Linked DNA regions of Homo sapiens: region 1 is linked to region 2. Evidence: promoter capture Hi-C in 16 types of primary human blood cells and fetal thymus (Javierre and others, 2016). All regions are on one chromosome and are shown on one strand. The core of a region is centred on a gene start or on the middle of the fragment in contact, and the rest is flanking DNA. Distances in the headings are between cores, read along the strand shown.

Region 1 (3,968 bases), core at 885-3,384, 270 kb before region 2:
TATCTGCCGTTTCAGGGTAAGTTGTGAATAGAACAAACAGTTCCACAATTAAAGTTAAGAGTTTGGAAACACTGGACTTGGCCGCTTTTTCTCGTCTTCACTGAGCCACCTGCTAACCCATGACTTGTTCTCCTAAGTGGACTCAATCATGAGGAAGGAGTATTCAGAGCCAGGGACCAGTTACTGGTAGCTTACCAGGCCACCTTTCTGTAGAAAGCAATAAATTGGCCTTTGGGTTTATTTCTAAGTGTCCAGGCGTTTAGCCAGTGCAGGTCTATCTGCCAGAGCCTGACTACCCTCAGCATGCTGAGAAAGTGGGGTTCATGTGCTGGGAAGCTGAACCGAAGAGTGGCCATTGTATGCCCTGCTTGGGGTAAAGAGAGGCCTCTATGGCTATCTTTCATCAGAATGAATGGCAGGGCCCAGTGGACTTTCTCTTAATTCAGTCTTCTCCTTGCAGAGGCTTTTTCTTAAACTCAAGCTTTCCCTGGCAAACTCAGAACAGGATGAAATGATCTGGCAAAGGGAAATGAAGAGGAGGAATTATCCAGGGGATTTGATCCTTGTGGTCATTTTTCAGACAAAAATGTTCCATCCATCCCTTTCTTCAAGAGCAGGAATTTGGTACCTGCAATATCCAGATCATTACATTACTTCTCTTGGCATTTGAAAAGAAAATTGTTTTGTGTGTCTGTGAGAAAGAGATTTAATGTATTTATATTCCTTTGATGCCTACTTCCCCTCTGAGTTTCTATTACCACAACCAATGATCCCCCTGCATGTAGTTTTGTAATGTGAAGCCCACACATAGAGTTTTTTTTTTTTTAAGTAAAATTGAGCTTCTAAAATTACCTAAGAGCTGCCAATTCTGAAAATTAACCTCTGTTTAATTAGTTTTGAATGACAACAAACCCAAACTAGTTAAGGTAGAAGCTGAGAGGAAGGAGTACTATGGGAGTTTTCACATTGAATCTCCTGTGTGGCCCTCAAACCAAAGTTTCAGGAGAATGCTGCCAAATAAAAGAGTGGATGATTAAGTGGAAATTAGGAAAACTTTTGTAAAATTGACAAAGGAAAGTCAGAACATTTCAAAGTTTTCTCAGAACTGAATAACAATATAGATCTTCCCTGTCTTTTTCTACCTCTCCCCGCAAGACCTGAGTGCCGGTCATTTTTTAGAAAAGGTGCTCAAATTGACACTTTGGAGATTTCCAGTGCCTTCTATGTGACATGTTTAAGTGCAGGGCTGTGAGGTGAGCACTGATACCATCCCCATTCATTTCAAAGGCTTAGTGCACTATTCAGGCTCGCGGTGAGGGCCCAGTTGATGCTAGCCACTATTACTCTATTAATTTGTGGGAGTAACCAGCCCTTCTGCTTGGGACTGGAACCATTTCTGATTGGTTGGTAATTGCTTTACTATGTTTTGAATGGTGGCACTTAGTGGGCAGAGTTTTCTAGTAAAATCTCAATAGGTATAAAGTGTACAGGTGTCTTCGTAACTTGTTTATAAGCTTACTTGAAGGTAAAGATATTGTTCCATCGATCTTTGTGGCTCACACAGCACGTAGCACAGTAGTTTTCCATAGTAGGTCCTCAAAGAAACTTTTAAATAATAAAATGAAACCTCTGTGTGTAAAGCCATAGACGTGCTTGGTTGGTTTTGTGAAATCTCGTGTCTAAGCAAAAGGCTGATCGACATGGAAGGGTGATGATACCTGAAGAAATGAGCAAAGGTGCCCCCCAACAGAACCTTCCATGATGATGGAAATGTTCTGACCTATGTTGTCCACTAGGGGAGCCACCAGCCACCAGTGAATGCTGAGCACCTGGAATGTGGGTACCATGGCTGAAGTACTAAATGTTCAAGTTTATTCAATTTTAATTAATTTCACTTGGAAGTTACAGAGCCACATGTGGCTAGTGGCCCCTATACTGAACAGCATAGCACAGGCCTAGACCTCCAGTTGAGAATCTGGCAAAAAGGCCCATTTCAGTTGTAGCCATTGAACAAAAGCAGTGATCTCAAAGTGTACCCCTCAGTCAGCAGCATCGGCATTGCCTGAGAACTTTATTAGACTTGCACGCTTTTGGAGCTCATGCTACACCTTCTGAAACAAATTCTGGGGATGAGGCCAAGCAATCTGTATTTTTACAATCCCTTTGTGGTTCTGATGCACCCTCCCATTTGAGAACCTCTGATCTAATTTAAAATTAAAGCAAAATGAGATTCTGATCTACGCTGGTCACCTTTTCTCTGGCAGTGGTTCTCAGACCTCACCAGTGTGGCCTAGCTGCGTGAGAACCCCCAGGCCAATTTGTTACACATACACCCCCCCACACACTACCGAGTTCTACCCTTTAGGGATTCTGATTTTGAATATCTGGACTAGATCAGAAATCTCTACTTTTTTTTTTTAAAGCTCTGAGATACTTTTCATTCACAGCCAAATTGGGGAACCACTCTTAGATCCGGTCAGAGGGTCTCTGGAATTTTATCTCTGATCACGGCAGGACTTGATCCACTCCATTAACCTATGTCCTGTCCCTCCTTTCCTCCTGAGGCCAGTGGAGAAAGGGACCCCAACCTCACTGACTTTCACAGAGCGTTTTTACATCTGCCATTAGATCAAAAAGGTTGCACTAAGGCCCCTGGGCGCCAGGGGGCTCTGTGGAGACTTTGGGCTTCAGGCTTTTCTGTTGGGTTCTAGACTGTTTTGCAAACTATCCGTGTCCAAGAACCAGGTTTTTCCCCTAAGCTTTTACAGACCATTACTTTTTAAAAATGCAATAAAAGTTACTAGAAAGACACAATAAAGACATAGAAAATACAAGGCCTGATTTTCTCCAACAGTGTTACTGTGAACATTGTAAAATATATAAAAAGTCGAAATAATTGCTTTGTACAGTGAACACCAATATACCCACCACCTGGATCCTACCATTAGCATTTTGTTATATTTGCTTTATTATTTATTGATCCGTGTTTCTATCCATTAATCCAAGTTTGGTTTTTTTTTTGTTTTTTGTTTTTTTTTGTTTTTTTATGAACTTAAAGTAAGTTGCTGACATTAGTGCACTTCACCCCTGGACAGTTCAGTATACATATCACGGACGATGTTTCAATTTTTTTTTTTTTTTTTTTTTTTTTACTTTAGTAGAGACATGGTTTCACCATGTTGGCCAGAACGGTCTCGAACTCCCTGGCTTTGAGTGATCCGCCCACCTTGACCTCCCAAAGTGCTGGGATTACATGCGTGAACCACTGTGGCCAGCCAGGTTTCAATATTTTTACGAATTTTTTTTTTTGAGGCATACTTCACATACTGTGAAATGCACAGATCTTAAATGTACTATTCAAAAAAGAATCTTCAGAAATGCATATACTTGTCTAACCTCAAACAGTAACAAGATACAGAGCTTTTCCATCATCCAGAAGGTTCTCTTGTGCACCTTAGCAGCCAATTTGCACAACAGTTTAACCATAAGTCCTAATTTTTTTTATTATTTGATTCAAGAATAAAGTTAGTTTGTCAAACTGCCATTAGATTTTCTAAATACACATTTTAAATTCCTGAACTTACCTCCTCATGCACTGGTGATAAGCAGCTCCTGAACAGCCTCGCTGGGGGACCACTGTGTAAGTAAAGCCTATTCTGAGATGCTGGGTTCACAGCCCAGGGCCCTGTGACCGTATTCAAAGTCCACTTGCTTGGAAGTCTCCAAAGCTCATCTCTCTGATGGGCACATCCTGTGACGTCCTCTGCATATTCCCTGTGCTCTTGTTGTTTTCACCTCCAAAGGGAAGGAGAGATTACATGGTGCGGTGGGTCTGTAGGGAGAATGAGAGGAGCTCCTTTCTTTACCCTCTCCCTTCTCTGCTACCCTGCAACGGAAGCAAAAGGGACCCCACGGTGGGACTCCCATCGCCAGGAATAATTCCCCCAGGAAACCTTGCAGGCTTCTCC
Region 2 (3,554 bases), core at 187-2,686:
GTCACAGTAAGAAAGTCCTGTTTCTCTGGTCCATCCACTGGGACTTGGTAATGGTGTGGTCATAGGTAACTCTTCTAGACAATGGTATTTATGATAACTTCATCAGGAATTAAAGCCAAAGTGCTGAGGTTTTGTCCTGGTTCTGCAGTAGTGTGGCCTCAGGCAGGTTATAACTTTTTAAAGTCTAAATTCTAAATGTCACCTACAGATGAGAAGTCTCCTTCTGCCTTTGGCCTCTCACCAGCTGCTTTCTCCATGTCCTCTCCTCCCTCCCTTTTTGCAAAGCTAGGGGAGGGCCTGATGCAGAGCTGGCTTCCCTGTGGGAGGACTGGAAGGAACCACACAGCATGGATACTAATTCCATGAGTCCACATTGGTAATCAGAAACTAGGCCTGCCTTGCTATTTAGAAACTAATGCTATATTCTATTTCTTCAGATAAGCCAGTTTTGAAAAACAAGGCTTGAATATTTGGCAGGACAAGGAGCTACTCCCAAACACAGTTTCTTGCCAGCAAGGATGTCAATTTATCAAATTGAAAGGGTATAACCTAGGAGCCTCGGTTAGGTGTACTGGCTCCCTTTCTCGTTTGATTAGAATGACATACACGCTAATTGATCTCTTTCCGGCTCAGTCATCTCCATGCAGTAAAGAATTTCAAGCTGCTATTGTTTATTTCCTATGTATTATGTCTAAATATTTCATGGTGAATGAAGAAGAGTGACTATTTTCAAACTGGAATGCTTCTTCAGAAGAAACCCAAACTGGAATGTTTCTTCAGAAGAAACTTCAGAAGTCACCAAAAAGGTGACTCCTCCATCTTTCTGATTCTTGGATCCTAAAGTATCTTCAGCAAGTGAAGCCCAGTTTCATAACCGAAGAGGTGACTCCATCTGTCCTACAGACTTGCAGTGTGAAGCTTGCAATGGTTTCTCTGTATGTTAATTTCTCCATCTCTAGGATGGCCTATGTGGTTCTTACTAACCTCAGAGTGGTATCATGAAGCCACTGAAATGATACCAGAAGAAAACAAGAGTGATTAATCTTCTAGGATGATAAATCTATATTTTCTTCAAATTCTTCATTTTGCATAAAAACCTTTTTCAGAAAAGAATGTTAACATTGGATATATCTACACCTGATTTGACAGTTCCAAACTACACCCCAACCACCCACTTCTGAATGAGAAGAAAAAAAAATCAGAAGCCTGCAATTGTGTAACATGAAAATCTTTTCTGGACCAGGGCCCGTCACTGTGATTTGGCAACACAACTGGCACATCTCTTTTCTCATCTCTTGAAAAAAACCAACAGAGAAAAAAGTACCTTGAGAATAAAGGTAATGATTAATCTGTCAGGCACAAAAGGGATTGTTTTGGGGATTTCGGGTTCTAAGTCGCAGATTCAAACAAATAGCAGCGAACAGGGAATGACAGTTCCACCAGAAGACGATTAAGCCACAGCCTCTAATTGGAACGGCATTTGTACAGTCAGAGACTCTTACCAGACATCTCCAGGAATCTGTGAGCCATTGTCAAAACGTCCATTTTCATCTGGCTGTGAAAGTGAGGACCACAACAGGTAGGTATTGGTAGAAACAGGAGTCCTCAGAGAAGCCCCAAGATGCAGCCTGAGGGAGCAGAAAAGGGAAAAAGCTTCAAGCAGAGACTGGTCTTGAAGAGCAGCTTAGCGAAAGAAACCCTCTCTGAGTTCTTGGGCACGTTCATCTTGATTGTAAGTATTTCCTGATTTCCTACATTCAGACCCAATAATGCCTCCCTAGCTGCCAGGCTGGTAGTGGAGAGTTTTGTTTGGTTTGTTTTATTTAAGTTAATTGGGATCAGATTCATCTTTTCCAGGAAGAAACAAGTTACTAGAGGCTGTTTGACTATTTAGGGGTTGTGATATTAAGTTTTCAATTACCTATTGCATTTACCCACAAAAGTTGATGGGAATGGAAGAGAAGGAGTGAGTGAAGTGCCTTCTTTATTTCAGGTATTTACTTATACTCTAAAATGGCTTTGTGATTTAAAAGTCAGTCGTTAGTGTTTTCATTGATCAATTGATTTGTACCCTGCTTGCTTCCTCCAAGCATTGGGGTGACTCAGCCACCTGGAATAAGCATCAATAGTCAATAAATATAGTTGGCAAAAATATACATATGGATGGCAAGAAACATCTCAGTATGACAAGTACTTGACAAGTATTGTGCTGTCAGATCACTTGATTTTTAAGAAATTAAAAATTGCACTAGGTAGAAATAGTGTACCAGGCAATAGTCCAGCTTTAGTTTTGTGTCATTTTTGGTCTCTATTTAAAGCAAAGTAATCTCTAAATATCTTTGGAGATTTACAAGACAATTACAAGAACCTTCTAGATATAAACGAGGGACGACTTCTAAGAACCTCTTGAGGATTGCCCAGAGATTTACTCAGCTATTAACAAGAGACTGGAAAGTTTACTTAAGTGGTCTGGGCTTTCATTTTGCTGCACGTTCTAGCATTCTCTGTATCCTGAAGTTTTACCTGGAACCAGGCCATTTGTGAATAGAAATGTATTATCATGTGGCAACTATTGATTTCAACTGGTTTTTTTTATCCTGCTTAAGGATTTCCTACTCCAGGTATAAATAATTTCATTTTCCTTAAAGTTATAGAGAATAGCCCATAAACTCTGTGCATTAAAAGTTCTTTGCTTGGGGCAAATACATAATAATTTAGAAGAATAAGCTTGGAATGCATCAGCTAAGCCAAGAATGAGAAACAAATGTGAACTCAAAAAATTGAACTAGTGGAATGTGAAGAGAGAGTCATAAGTTTTCTGGTCTCTGAGAAACACATTAGACCAGATTCGTTACAGTATTTTCAGGGAGTTACGGACAATTTCTTGCACTCCTCATCTTCCCTTGGCATTCATTCCTGGCTGCTCTGACCACACTCACTGTCATAATGTAGCAAGACATTATGTAGTAAGACATTATGTAAGTAGTTATTTCTAACTAAAATAAAAGAAATAAAAGAGAGAAGATGAAAGTCAGTGATTCTTATGATTCCCGGTCACTGCTTACTGGAAAATCTTTCTTAGTGAGACTGAGACCCCTCTGTCATGTTACTTGACAATCTGGCCCCAAAGAAGCAGTTGTCAATACAGAGTGATTACAGCCTCACAGTGACGAGTGAGTCAGAAAAGTGAAGCAAATTCAGTTACAATTCTTAGTGCTCTGCAGAAAACAGAGGAGGAAATGAACTACACATCTTTTTTTTTTTTTTTTTGCAACCAAAAAGTTTAAAACCCTCTGTATTTCTTAAGAAGAACCTGTTTCATAATCCCGTGCTTTCTGTGTTGAAAGTGAAATTTGCTTTCAGCAGTTCACTGTTCAACTGGCCTTGTGTCTTCCCCACTATGCAAGGTAGGGGCTAAATAAAGAACATCTTGATATTGTCTGTTGAAAAATTAAAACTTGTATGTTCTGGATAAAGCCAGTCATTTCCTGAAATATTTAATTTCCATTTATACTATACATTTATTTTCTAAAGTGAACCCTAATAAAATCTGC

Evidence for each region. The method cuts DNA at HindIII sites, captures the fragments that hold promoters and counts their contacts. A CHiCAGO score of 5 or more calls a contact.
Region 1: a fragment that was not itself captured here is called in contact with the fragment with the promoter of AQP9 in region 2 in 2 of 17 cell types (M2 macrophages and M1 macrophages); the score reaches 5.8 in M2 macrophages.

What each region holds. Positions count from the first base shown.
Region 1 is chr15:57,863,690-57,867,657 of GRCh38, forward strand. No RefSeq gene overlaps it. Among named protein-coding and RNA genes, the nearest start is that of POLR2M, 160 kb to the left of the region's middle. The HindIII fragment of the contact is 1,245 bases long and covers 1,513-2,757 here.
Region 2 is chr15:58,136,945-58,140,498 of GRCh38, forward strand. It overlaps AQP9 (aquaporin 9), which reads left to right and starts at 1,437. Exons shown (of 6, transcript NM_020980.5): 1 at 1,437-1,732. The coding sequence starts at 1,622. The HindIII fragment of the contact is 735 bases long and covers 917-1,651 here.